Regions from separate parts of the Homo sapiens genome. Here region 1 is linked to region 2. Evidence: promoter capture Hi-C in human tissues and cell types (Jung and others, 2019). All regions are on one chromosome and are shown on one strand. The core of a region is centred on a gene start or on the middle of the fragment in contact, and the rest is flanking DNA. Distances in the headings are between cores, read along the strand shown.

The links. Contacts are between HindIII fragments. The study calls those that stand out against the background at their distance.
Region 1: a fragment that was not itself captured here is called in contact with the fragment with the promoter of FOXA2 in region 2 in 1 of the 25 tissues and cell types used here (dorsolateral prefrontal cortex).

Annotation. Positions count from the first base shown.
Region 1 is chr20:21,377,054-21,384,187 of GRCh38, forward strand. XRN2 (5'-3' exoribonuclease 2) reads left to right here. Exons shown (of 30, transcript NM_012255.5): 28 at 4,941-5,004. Among named protein-coding and RNA genes, the nearest start is that of NKX2-4, 17 kb to the right of the region's middle. The HindIII fragment of the contact is 5,408 bases long and covers 1,037-6,444 here.
Region 2 is chr20:22,581,123-22,587,773 of GRCh38, forward strand. It overlaps FOXA2 (forkhead box A2), which reads right to left and starts at 3,450. Exons shown (of 2, transcript NM_021784.5): 1 at 3,070-3,450; 2 at 1-2,032. The coding sequence starts at 3,156. The coding sequence ends at 728. LNCNEF (lncRNA neighboring enhancer of FOXA2) reads right to left here. Exons shown (of 3, transcript NR_109883.1): 3 at 6,400-6,651. RefSeq lists enhancers at 911-1,482, 1,483-2,055, 3,480-4,235, 4,991-5,746, 5,747-6,501. The HindIII fragment of the contact is 10,630 bases long and covers 1-5,128 here.

The DNA.
Region 1 (7,134 bases), core at 2,491-4,990, 1.2 Mb before region 2:
TTTGGACTTCCTAGAAGGCAACCATGTCATTTCACAAATCATTCCCTGATACTTTTGTAAGAAATGTATTGGATAAATAATTAGCTTCATCTAGAATGGTCATTAAAGTATGATAAGTTCAGGCAAATGCTGCAGACAATGAAGAAAGGAAATCTGATATTTTCCTAATATTCTTTAAGCATAGTCCAACATATGATTTGTCGGTTTTTTCTTTTTTTTTTTTTTGGTCAGTCTTGCTTTGCCACCCAGGCTGGAGTGCAGTGGCGCAATCTCAGCTCGCTATACCTCTGCCTTCCAGGTTCAAGTGATTCTCCTGCCTTAGCCTCCCAGGTAGCTGGGATTACAAGTATGCACCACCATGCCCAGCTACTTTTTGTATTTTTAGTAGAGTCAGGGTTTTGCCATATTGGCCAGGCTGGTCTCAAATTTCCTGGCCTCAAGTGATCTGCCTGCCTCAGCCTCCCAAAGTGTTGGGATTACAGGCGTGAGCCACCACGTCCGGCCTGTGTTTTTTTTTTTCTTTTAGTTTACTGTCATTAAGACTTCTGACATATTTATTTTGTGATCTTGTTACTTCTAGATTCAATATTTGTGTAGAACCAGTCTTCACCTATGTATCAATCTTTCATCCATTCATCCACATCTTGCTATAAGAGGAAGAAAAACACAAAAGGAAGAGAGATAGAGGGCAAGGAAAAGCATCCTTAAGATGATTTGGACTTGGATGGACGGGATTGTAGAGTGAATCTAAGCGCCACATCTCTCTGTTGCTTCCTCTGGCTATGAGGGCAGAGAGGTACTTTTTTGTCCCTAGGGAGATAGGCTTGACCAGGAAGGGGACCTGGTTCATTTCACCCAGGCTGTCACGGCTTCGAGAGCACCTCTCCGCTCTTTCCGTCCCTCGACAGACCGGCTGATCTCTTTGAAGTGATGTTGGGTTTTGGTTTGTGCTTCAGGAACCGCTGATACTGATTTTTATCTGATCCCTTCTCTTTACATTTTAAGTGCCAGATTTTGAGGGGTAGTATTATCCTTTTAAAAAGAGCAGAGATTCCAGTGTTTTAGCCAAGATGTTTTCTTATTTTCTTCCTATAAATCCTGTATTTGCCTAGATGCTTACAACTAAAATGTGTGTTATTTTTCTTTCCTATCCTAATTGGATATGAGTAATAATGTCGGTTGTAAACCTTTAAGATGTTGAGAGTAGTTGTTAAACCCCCCATCCAGTCTTGTTGAAACTGTAAGTTTCTGAGCCTCCTGATTAAGCAGCACAAAATCATGGGTGGTTCTCCTCTGCGTCTTCTGAAATAAATTAACATGAAGTGCCATCTCAACCGACAGCATAAATGAATGTGAAACTTTGAGATTGCACAGTGTAGTAGAGAGTGGTTACGGGGACATAGCCCCTGGCCTCACTCTGTGACCTCTGACAGGTTTGGTCATTGCCCCAGTTTCCTCATCTCGAAAATAGTACAGAGGATAAGAATATTTACCTGACAAAATAACCAGACTAAATGAATTTAAGTAGCTAAGCACTTAAAATAGTACGTTGTACATAATAAGTACTGTGAAAGTATTAAGTGATAAAAGATCATCTTTCCTTTTATAGAATTTTGAACTTTAAAATTTAGTCAAATAGCTTGTTTTAGTAAGATTGAGTTCTAAGCCATTTATTCAGTCTAAAATATTTTTAGTATCATAATCATTTTCTTCGTGTAGTATGAAATTGCACTCAAGAAGGGCCATTTGGTCAAACTGACAACTGTCAAGTGTCTGCTGTAGGTATTTCTTATTGTTGGTGTTTGATTTGTCTTTGATGTGTCAGTTTTGGCTGATGAGTAATTGTCTGAGTACTGATAACTTGTTGGAATCGAGTGTAGCCCTGAGTACTCAGTCTGAATAAAGCATTTGGTTTCTGTAGCCCAGAGAACCTTAAATGTGACTTCTCTTCATTTTAGTCTGTAAACTTGTCAATTAGCCACGTTGAAAAGTGATTTTTGACTAGTGCTATCAGTAAACATGGAATCTTTTCTGTGATTGCCACGCTGATTAGGTAAATTGTCACTTGAGAAGCTATTGGCGAAGCTTGGTTTACATGGCCTTAGAGCTCTAGAAAAGGGATAAGTTTTTAAAGACCAAAGGAAAAAATTTTCCACTCTCGCCTGTACCTTCTGAAGTGCAATTCACTGTCTCAGAATTTTTTTTCTTCCTCTCAAATGGGTCTTCTGTTAGAGCCATACAAATGAATGATAATAAGTTTGTTTTACCATCTACTTCATTACAGATCAGCCAGGAAATACTTCTGCTTTATGAATACTTCCAGGTTATATATGTTACTAAGAGCCATATGAAGAAATTTGGTTAAAAATAGCCTTGAAATATTTCTTTGAGCCTTTTTTCTTTTTGGATTGAAAACAAGGAGTGTTTTAACAGTTGCATCAGAGTTTATTGAAAGTTTTGGAAAATTTGCTTAGGTTTTAACAAAAAACTGTAATTTTTGTATGTGCTGAGTTTATATGGAAAAAGAAAATTGTCCTGGAGGTGAGAGATAGAAAATGGAAAATAGAGAGGCACCTGGCACACTAGAAGTGATATATTAGAAATGTTTGCTGTTTTTTAAGACATTTCTAGTTGTATAGGTTAGACAACTAGTTGTATAGGTTAGACAATTATTTCCTCCTCCAAAAAAAGCATTTACACTTAGTAAACTTTACATTCCAGTTCTACTTAGAAATACTGCTGTGCTTAATCTAAGAATAGCATGTTTGAGTCTAATGAATATATATTATGGGTGGTGATGGCTTCATCTCCATTAGCACAGTTTCTAGGACAAAATATACAAGTTTTTTTCCCATCTTTATTTTTCTTAAAACATTAGATTGTTTCTGAAGGTTTCTCTTAATGTAGCTGTATCTTTGTATTGTCTTCATTCGATTTTAAATTTATTAGGGAGCCACTGTGGAAGCTTTCGTAAGTACCATGGAGAATGTGTATCCTGCGATTATACCATACATAAAAAGACACCAGGCAAGCACAATATGGAATTAAGTCCTAATGGTAAAAAGGGGTATGTTTCCAGGGTAACCGCAGTGATTCCAGGGGATGTGAAGTAGAGGGGTCCGGATGAATATTTGCTGTATTTCTTTTGACTTCTGTTACATTTGCAAATTTTGTATATATAAGGGCACTAAAATGAAATACTTCTGGGAACATTTTAACTGATTCTCACTAAACTAATTTTGTACATGAGCTGAAAAAGTGGCTCAAACATTGATTTTACTTTCAGTAGATTACTTTCTCACAAATGGTAACTCATTGAAATTCATATATGTAAATGTATCTTAAGTTTTCCCATAGAAATAAACCATACAAATGAAATGATTGCTATTATTGTAAGAACTTCTTACTTTTATCTCTTCAGAAAATTGATTTTCTGATAGTGTATAGTCTGTAGTAATGACTCAGAACTTACTCTGGGCGTAGGGTGGGGAACTGTCTTCCTCTGTTTTCTGTGGAGTGTGTAGTAGTCAGCATCCTCCACATTGTTACTCGGTTTGACTGCTAGTAGTTTGGTTTTTAAGAAATAAAAAAGGAACTTAATTCCAATTGACTAAAGATACCACCTTTTAATTCACAATGGGAATCTGCCTGGAAGTGACAGCTGGTGAAGGGCTTCCTGCACCTTTCTGAGAGGTGGGTTTGGCACCCATGGGTATGGCTGCAGAAACTTTTCCAGCTGGCCATGGACTGATGTGGGAGTGGGCTGTGGCAGCTGCAGATGGCTGCCCTCCTTCAGGTAGTTTGTCCACATAAGGAAAACTTTCTTCAGTCTGGCCTTCTCAGCATGTCGAGATGGGAAGGAAGCCAGGGCTGAGGCTGCCAGTTATGAGCTAGAATCATTGTGAGCAGCTAGATATTTTATTGATTCCGTGTTCTTTGTCATGGGGCTTTTAAAGCATGATTCTACTTTTTTCTTTCTCTCTCTTTCTTAAGTAAAAACCATATATATTTTTGGTTTCTAACCAGAGATAAGCTTTCAACTCTTCTTTTCTTTAAGTAATTTTGAAAAGCATTTTTCTAGTTTGTGTTTCTATTAAAATGTGAGCCTGAATACATTATGGTAAGCGTTGTCCTTGGTCTCGGGAGTCTAGAGGAGGTTACTGTCCTCACATGGTGAACTCATTAGACAACTTCTGGAACCAGCAGTTTTAATTAGGTCACAGCAGACCCCGCTGAAGGTGAAGTGACTGCAAGCTGTGGTTCGCTGATATAGACAGGCCCAGATGTTTCTTTCATCCTATATCCGTCAGTTTATGTAGAAGAGCAGGAGCCATTTAATTGTTTCTTCTAGTTAGATGATGTTGCTAGTTCAGCTTTGCGTTACAAGAAAACTATCAGAAAAGATGGAGAAGTGGGTGGTCCCTTCATTAATGTGTTTTCTTGGTTTGTGTTGGAGAGATTGTGTGTGCTCTGCTTAATGTTAATGAAAGCAATTTATGCCTTCAGAAGGAAAATTTCAGGATTTCTGTTGTAGATACTATTCATTCAGTTTGTATTAATTCTATTTATGGAAAAGAACTAAACCTTTCCTTTTCCACAGCATTTAAAATATAAATGTAAAAACTGTGTGTAATGTATGTATCTTTACTTACACACACATACACACACACACACACACACACACACACAGGATTATGTGAGTTTAGTGACCAGGGGTTACTAAACCTATTTTGTTATCAAAGGAAAAATAATAAAAAATTTGCTGACCTTGTTAGTTACTTACCTTTTTACATTTGTGGTGTGTGTTATTATGATACTAGTTTATTTGGTTTACAGTCTTTCTCAGATTTTTTTCAAGAACTTTTAATTATAAAATATTGGGTAGTTGAATATTGGTTACTTTTAAAAATCTTCTTAACCCTTTCCTGTTTCTTTTTCAGATATGAGGCCCCAGGATTCCTGGCGAGGTCCTCCTCCCCTTTTCCAGCAGCAAAGGTTTGACAGGTAATATTAAAAGTAGACATGACTTTTAAATACTTTCTGACACCAACATTTGGGGTTTATGGTTTTTATGGAAGCTAAAACCTCTGTGGTTTGAAATGTACTTTTTCCCACCAAAAACAATTTCCCTTGTGCCTATCCTTTAAGAAAATATATAGCTAATACTTTGAATTAAAAGACTCATGTTTAATATACTTTCTTACTTTTCTTGGTTCTTGGCCTTTATTTTATTGATGCTTTTGAGATGCCCTGAAAAATGCAACACAGCTTAAAACTGTATTAGGTTTTGGTCAGGCTAAACAAATTTCTTTTTAGAAGGGTTGTGCAGCTTAATGAGGCATAACTAATGGTGTTCCACTTTTATCATTTCTGTGCGGGCAATGCAGCGTTAGTACAGACCAACCATTGATTCTTGCTACAAACCTCTTGAAGTCCTAATCAGCTTCTTTGGTACAACTTTTTCAGGGCTGACAAGCCTATTGTAGGGCAGTGTCACTGTAGGTCAGTAGTTATTAGTTGCCACTGAAAACAGTTTCTTTAACTACTTAAGACTGAACTGAATTAAACGCAGAAGGGACTCAGAAGAGGATTATGGGATCTGCAGTCTAATAAGTACCATGGACTAGGAAGAATGTGACATGGTTTAATAACAAGGGATGTTTAACATGTATTCCTTCATTGATAAGTTGTGTGCTCCTAAGTCCGATGGACTCTGTACGACAAGACAACTAGGCACATTATGAATAATTAACATCTGTAGAATAATTTTTAAAGGCCAGCTTTAAGATGTATCATTTCATGATGGTTTTGCCAACATCAGTAAATGCAAAAACAAATTAAGCCCCATCATAATAAGGCTTTCTTTTTTGCCTTCCCAGTTTTAATCTGTTTTATTCTCTTCTCCTCTGCCATGTTTACAGTCTCTAATCTGTTCACATCTGAAATGAATAGTGTTTTTATAAATGGGATTCTAAATGCAGCTTCCCTTTTAAGAAAACTTTATAACTCTTTAGAGACTCCAGAACTTTATTTCATTGTTATCTTCAAGAGGATAAAAGGAATCATGTTATTCGATGTTTACTAATAGTGTCAACTTAGTGCAAGTCTCATTAAATGCAATACGACTAGCAATGTGTGTATTAATGTTTTGATTTTAGTATATGTTCTGAAAGCACACAGTATGTGCTGTTTCATTTTCCTCAGTACCACAAATTTTAAGCAGAAATTAAGTAAGTAAGGGGTAAATTTTTCCTAAATTATATACTTGGTTTCTCTATCTTATTGCTCACTTTCCATACTAATAATAATGGCAAATGTTTGTCTGCTTACAAAGTGTTAACACTGTGTTAACATCCTTTAATAAGAATGATTTCATTTATTCCTCCTAGCAGTGCATTGAAATAGATGCTGTTATGTTTACATTTTTGCAAATGAAGAAAGTGAGGCACAGAGAAGTTCAGCAGCTTACCTAAGGTCACTCTTTTGTGCCATTCTTTACCAAGAAACTTTTCACTGGAACAAAACTTACCAGAATATTTACTCTGAGCGTAATATAAAGACGTAGGGACTTCAAAGGAAGTAAAGGATCTGTTTCCACTTCTAAGGCCCCAACAGCTTTCCTCCCCTCTGTTCACATTAAAAGTTTTCCTAAGATCATCATCATTGTCCCTTCCCTTACCCTGCTGTCCATCAGGTTTTGTTCTTATTCTACCCTAGCCAAGTACTAGTATTATTCTGACTTTGTGAACCCAGCAGGTTAGTGACAAGTTTTGTGGGAATGTTTTTTGGTTTAGTTTTAGTCAGATACTTAAAATTATGCCTGAAAGCAAAAGGTAAATGTGAGCATAATAGAGTTCTATCATAAAAGTCTTACATCACAGACATTTAAGAAAGATACCATTTTGTTCCAGAACCAGGTTTTACCAGTTCTTAGTTCAGTATGTTTCCACGACGCTACTGTTTGTTGAGAATCCTATTAAGAGAATTTTGAGTGTCTTTTTTTTATTACATTGCATTTCTTGAATAATTTCCTACTTTAAGATGGTATGTATAATCCATATATCCAGTAGATTTAAAAATACAACAGGAACATCCTCCCAACACAGACACAGCCTAGAGTTAATAGATACCCAG
Region 2 (6,651 bases), core at 2,200-4,699:
GCCTGTATATTTTGTAAGCCAAGTAAAGAAAAGAAAAATCTGGAAGAAAAGATTCAAGGGATAAAACCGGGTATAACACTTTAATATAGATTTGTGGAACTCTGGCCCTTGCAGCCAGAATACACATTTATAAGCCATAAATAAAGCACGCAGAAACCATAAATTAATCGGACCCGAGACCTGGATTTCACCGTGTCAAGATTGGGAATGCTTTTTTTTTCTTTTTCTTGGTCATTTACAACAGACCCTTACATTATTTTTTTTCCTGTTTTTAAACAATAGTACAACCCTCTGGTTCTGTTAAAACTACATGGTTTTACACCGAGTCACTCACAAAATTTTTTTTTTTTTTTAAGTAAGACTTCCCTGCAACAACAGCAATGGAGGAGAACAACAACAACAAAAAAATCAGAATCTGCAGGTGCTTGAAGAAGCAGGAGTCTACACAGTAGTGGAAACCGGAGGCTTTTTTTTAACTTTATATTCTTTCCCGTTTTCCTCCTTATATAGAACGTGGGGTATCTGTGTGGCCCTCTGTTTGGGACGGAACGGCTGCAGCGGGTGAAGAAGACTGCTGTCTTGGGGGTGTTGGGGTGGGGGTGTTATGGATTTCTTCTCCCTTGCGTCTCTGCAACACCGTCTCCCCAAAGTCTCGACCCCCACTTGCTCTCTCACTTGTCCTCGATCCGGGGTGCCAGAGTTAGCCGGGCCTGAAGCCGTCGTCTTCTTAAGAGGAGTTCATAATGGGCCGGGAGTACACCCCCTGGTAGTAGGAGGTATCTGCGGCCAGGGGCGAGGCGTCCAGGCCCGTTTTGTTCGTGACCGGGCCCATGGCCAAGCTGCCAGGCATGGGGGAACCGTAGCCGGGGTAGTGCATCACCTGTTCGTAGGCCTTGAGGTCCATTTTGTGGGGTTGGTGGTGGTGGTGGCTGTGGTGGTGCTGCTGCTCCGAGGACATGAGGTTGTTGATGGAGAACGGGTGGTTGAAGGCGTAGTGGTGTTCCGGCTTCAGGTGGGCCTCAGGCGGCAGGCCCGGGTGGTGGGGCGGGCCCAGCAGGTGGGCCGCGGCCTGCTGCTGCTGCCCGGGAGAGGGCGCCGGCTCTGGGGGGCTCAGCGCCGCAGCCGGCGTCCCCTTCAGCTCTCCCAGGCCCCCTCGCTTGTGCTCCTGGCACGGGGAGGCGCTCGAGTGAGGCGACTCGGTGCCCGCCGGAGTCTCGGAGGCCGGCCCGGCGGCCTCCCCGAGTTGAGCCTGTGAGGCCTGGGCTCCGGCGGCCGCCTTCTTGCCGCTGCCGGCGGCGCCTGCGGCCTCCTTCAGCGCCAGCTGCTTCTCGCACTTGAAGCGCTTCTGGCGGCGCAGGTAGCAGCCGTTCTCGAACATGTTGCCCGAGTCAGGGTGCAGGGTCCAGAAGGAGCCCTTGCCGGGCTTGTCGGGCGAGCGGGGCACCTTCAGGAAACAGTCGTTGAAGGAGAGCGAGTGGCGGATGGAGTTCTGCCAGCGCTGCTGGTTCTGCCGGTAGAAGGGGAAGAGGTCCATGATCCACTGGTAGATCTCGCTCAGCGTCAGCATCTTGTTGGGGCTCTGCTGGATGGCCATGGTGATGAGCGAGATGTACGAGTAGGGCGGCTTTGCGTGCGTGTAGCTGCGCCTGTAGGTCTTGGGGTCGCGGGCGCGGCTCAGGCCCGCCTGCCCGTACATGGGGCTCATGGAGTTCATGTTGGCGTAGGGGGCCAGGCCGCCCATGGCCCCGGCCGCCTGCCCCCCGAGCGGGCTCAGGCTGGGACTCAAGTGCGGCCCCATGCCCGCCACGCCGGCCGCCCCGGCCGAGCCGCCCATGCCCGCCATGGCGCCCGCGCCGGGGGACATCCCCGCCAGGGACGGGCTCATGCCAGCGCCCACGTACGACGACATGTTCATGGAGCCCGCGCTCATGTTGCCCGAGCCGCTGCCCATGGCGGCCGCCGACATGCTCATGTACGTGTTCATGCCGTTCATCCCCAGGCCGGCGTTCATGTTGCTCACGGAGGAGTAGCCCTGCGGACAGAGCCCCGGGAGGGAGGCGACAGCGTTAGCACCGCGGCTGGAGGGTGCCCAGACCTCCCACCCACCGCCCAGGCCTCCGCGTCCGGGGAGGCCTCCGGGGAGCCCTTTCGTCCCCGATGGCCCAGTCTCCGGACTCCGAGTCTGTTTCATTCAGGGAGAGTCATGATCGATCGCCCTTGGGAAGGTGGCGAGCGGATTGCTGCTTGGGCATGTGGCCCGTTCCTAGCCCTTCTCCACCTCGCCCAGATTCTAGAACAGGGGTCCCATGGAGTACTCCCAAGCCAGCACCCCAAATACATTCCCCTACCCCAGAGTCTCCCCAAACTCTCCCACCAGCATACTGAGCTGGCGCCGAGGCCCGAAGTCCCCGGACGCCACCTCCGGTCGCAGCAAGCAACCTGCGGGACAACGCGCGGGGCGCCTCGGGCTGCCTCCAGCGAAGACTGTCCCGGGCCCCCTCTGTCCGGTCTCCCTCCAGGGACCCCCTCCCTTGTCCCAGGGAAACTGCAAGGCAGTGCCTGTGCGGAGTGCGGGGGCGGCTGGAGGCACTGAACGGGGCAATAGGGAAAGAACCGAGACCTGAACCACACGCGGCTGAGCTTTGCAGGCAAAAACTTTCTTTCTCTTTGTCCACTAGTCTTTGACTCTGCCTCCACTTCAGCCCCCAACTCCTACCCATCTTCTCCTCCTCAGCTCCCCACCCCCTCGCCGGCCGACCTCCCACCCCTCCCCAGCCGCGCGCTGCCAAACATAACTCTGTTAGGATAGTGCGTGGCTCGGCCACGAAGAGGATTTGGAGGCGCCGCAAGTCAATATTTGATCACAAAGTTAATATTATCTCAAGGCTAACAGTGTGTCGTATAAAAAAGAGACCCATTTGATTCCAAGGAGGGCGGAAAAGGCGGCTGCCCAGAAAGGCTGGGGTTGTGGGGCGGGGTGGGGGGGTGCCAGCGAGGGAAGCGGTCCTGAGGTTGGGGAAGGAGCGAGCGCCGCCGCTCCACTTCCCCCTGGAAAAGACGAGCGCTTACCTCGGGCTCTGCATAGTAGCTGCTCCAGTCGGACGGCTCGTGCCCTTCCATCTTCACCGCTCCCAGCATACTGGAAGCCGAGTGCATGGCAGTTTAAAATTTAACAGCCACAACAAACGACCAGCAATCACCCCCCACCCCCACCCTCTTTTAAAAAAAAGTCAGCCAAAGCACCGTCCCCTCCTCCCTCCCTCTCTCGCGCTCCCTCTCCCTGGGCTCCACTCCCTCTCTCTCCCTGGGCAGGCCGGAGGCGGTAGTTGGAAGTGGGCGGGAGGTGGGGGGGGGCGAGGAGCGGAGGAGGCCCAGGCCAGCGCCCCGCGGTAGGGAGCACCCGCCGCCGCCGCGCTCACGGGCTGCCGGGTGGCGGCTGAGGTTGGCAGTGCCGAGCTGCCCCGAGGCGGCGGGAAGCGCGCGGCGCGGGGGCTAGTGGGGGGGTGGGGAGGAGGAGGAGGAAGGAGGAGGAGGAGGCGGTGGTGGTGGTGGAGGAGGAGGAGGAGGAGGAGGAGGAGGAGGAGGAGGAGGAGGTGTGGACCGCGGAGCGGACAAGTGCCGCAGTGACGTGGGAGGCTGGTGATATAGCGCGGCGCGCTGGCGCGGGCCTCCAATCCCCAGACCCGGGGCAGCCCATTTGAATAATCAGCTCACACCTAGGTGAGAGGTAGCCGCAGCCGGCGCTCCGCACCTGCCCCTCAGCGCCTGCCGTCCGCCCCACCGCCGCGGCGCCCCGCACTCCTGGGCGGGCCAGGGGAGCGGGCTGGGCGGGCGATCGGGCACGCGGGATCCCTGGTCGAGCCCCCTTTCCTCCCGGGTCCACAGCGAGTCCCCTGAGGAAGGAGGGACCTGGGAGGAAACCACCCTCTGGGGCGGCTCCGGCCTCCAGCCCCCGCCCCGTCTCATCGCGCCGGGCGCCCGGTGCGCCTGTCGGAGGGCGCGTCCAGCCTCAGTGCCCGGCAGATCCCTATGAAAGCCGGATTTATTTATGCCGGGTTTCTTCGCTCTCAGTGCTCATTCTCTGTCAAAACAGCAAGTCCATGACAGCCAATTTGCAAAGCGCTGTCCTATTTAGAAAAACTACGTACACACCTTTAACTCGCCCGCTGCTGCTCCTGCGAGGCCCCTCCCTGTTACAGTTCAGACCCGGAACGGCCTCGGGAGAAGCGCGGGGCGCACGGTCTGGCCGCCTCGGCTCTCCGACTCCTCAGACACCGGCCGCCAGGGACCCGCAGTGGGGCGGCCGGCGCCTGGCGCAAGCAGCCCCTCTAGCAGCGGCCGACGGTTGGGAGGCTGAGATTTGTCTCTGATATTCAGGCCGGCGTGTTTCAAGGTTACTTTTCAGTCACAACCGAGGTGCCCACAGCATTTCGTAACTAAAACAAACAGGGCAGGAGGTGGGGAGGGAGGGGTGAGGAGAGAAGAATCCAGGAATCAATGATGGGGCATATGGAGTTGACTTCAAGAGCGTCTCTGTCCTCTCTGTCTTCCAGAGGGACTGCTTAATAGAAATTAGAAACTCCAGCAATCGTATACTTTTATTTCCCCAGCAGCTCTTGGGTTCAAAAATTGTCTTCTGTTCTGGGTTAGCCTGTGAGCCCAGATTTGGAGTGGGGGGATATTGCAGGTGTTTGGATGTGGAGGCTCTTTCTTGGTTCTGAAAACCTGGCTGGACCTTGGGGATCCAGCCCTGTACCCACCCCCTCAGACACAGAGAATGCATAGGAACTAGTGGGCATCCAGCCCACCTGTCCAAAATTGGGGGCGATGGTGGCAGAAGACAGGCGAGATGGCAGACACGGAGCTTCGCATTGAAGCTTGAGTAAGGGTGAGGCTGGAAGGCAAGCGAGGAGGTAGCAGTAGGCACAGGGGAACCACTTCCCTAACCCCAGGACTCTCAGGTCTGCACGGTTTGGGACACAGAAGGAAGCCGCCGGCAGCATCTTTTGCTGCTGAAATGCAGATGGTTTGGACACTTCATAAAGAGGGCATTAATAAGCCCGCCGAGTGAGCGCCAGGGCGGGATTCTCCCACAAATTCAAGGTCTGTATCTCCGCGGAAGCCGTGCCTATCGGTCCCCCGAGTGCTGAAGGCTCCCACGAGGGGCAGGCCAGCCCGGTGCGCCAGGGAAGGAGCTTGATGGTGTGTACGGCTACGTAGTGAACGTGGAGGTGTGCGCAGCGGAGTCAGAGGGGCTAGATCCCCAGCATTTCCCACGGGGTCCCACCTAGCGCGTGGATGGGAGCAACTTCATCACTCCACCGAGGGCAGGGAAAGAGGAGTAAGCATTGGAGCTCAAAGAATGAGCAATTTTTCAAAGCTTTCTCCGCAGGCCTGGGCAGACACACACGCACACACACACACACCGCACCCCCAAAACTCAAAAGAATGTTATGGTTGACCTAGTCTGTGCGTGTGCTGTATGAGAGTATTTGTGAGCTTATGTGGGTGCCCACTTCCCTTTCTATTTTGCTCCTGGGTGGAAATTTGGTCCCAGAAATTATTCCAGGAACAGAAGGAGCGAGCTGGAGGGCCGCAGGAGAAGGGGGCGCTACACTTCCAAGGAGCGGACTTTGGAAGCCCCCACCTCCACCACAGCACTATTGGTGGCCGGGGTCAGGGACACCAGAGAGCGCTCGGCGGGGGCTTCCACAGTGACAGGGCGCCCCCTGTCGGCCGCCAGGCCCGCGGGACCGACCCGAGTCCTCATTTACCCCCGCGATCCCAACCCCGCAGCTCCGGCACCGGAGCACCTTCTCCCCCGCTCTCCCAGTCTCTCCGAAAACGCCTTCGGGGGGACTCGGCCTTTTTGGAGCCCCAACCCCTAGGTTCTGCGCGAACCCAAAACGGCCTCCTGCACCCTGGCGAGGTTCTGGGAGCTCCGGTAGGGTAGGGCTGGATGACGCCTCCTAGAGTCTCGGAGCAGCCGCTCCCGCACCCTCCCGGCACGCCTGCCCATGGGAATGCGAGCGGGGTCTACGGTTAGCTTTAGGTAGCTGGGAGCGGGACACCAACGGGCTGCGAAGGAAGCAGGGACGTTCAGACAGCCTGGGGTTCGCGTTCCCTTCCAGCTCAGCGGTCTTTGGAGCTCCTCCTTCCCGGAGTTCTGATTTCTAAAGGGCTATCCAGAGTTCTGGCTCAGGCTTGAATGCTGAAGATTGCTCCCGGAGTTTCTCTCCAGGAAAAAGTTCGCGGGGACCTCGGGCTGCAGATGTTTCTCCCAATCCCTCTTTAGTCTACCCTCATGTAGGGCCGAGACCTACAGAGCCCTTCCCTTTCCATTTTGTTAGGTCACCGCCGGCTTCTATAATAAAGCTGCTTTATAACTGAGGACTGTGCTTGGGGTTAGCATGCTATTTTTATTTTGGATGTTGCCTCAATGGCAAAGTCATAAGACTCGAGTTCAAATCCAGGCCTCCTCTGCTCTCCCTGGGAAGAAAACACCCAGGCCATCCAGGTCTCCTAGGCCTTCATCTTGCTGGAACAATCTGCGTTCCCCTAGCAAAAGTCCTCCCTAGAGCTCTCTTTGTCACATGAAACCAACCAGTGCAGAAGGGGCATCATTGAACAGAACTCAATTTTCCTAAGTGA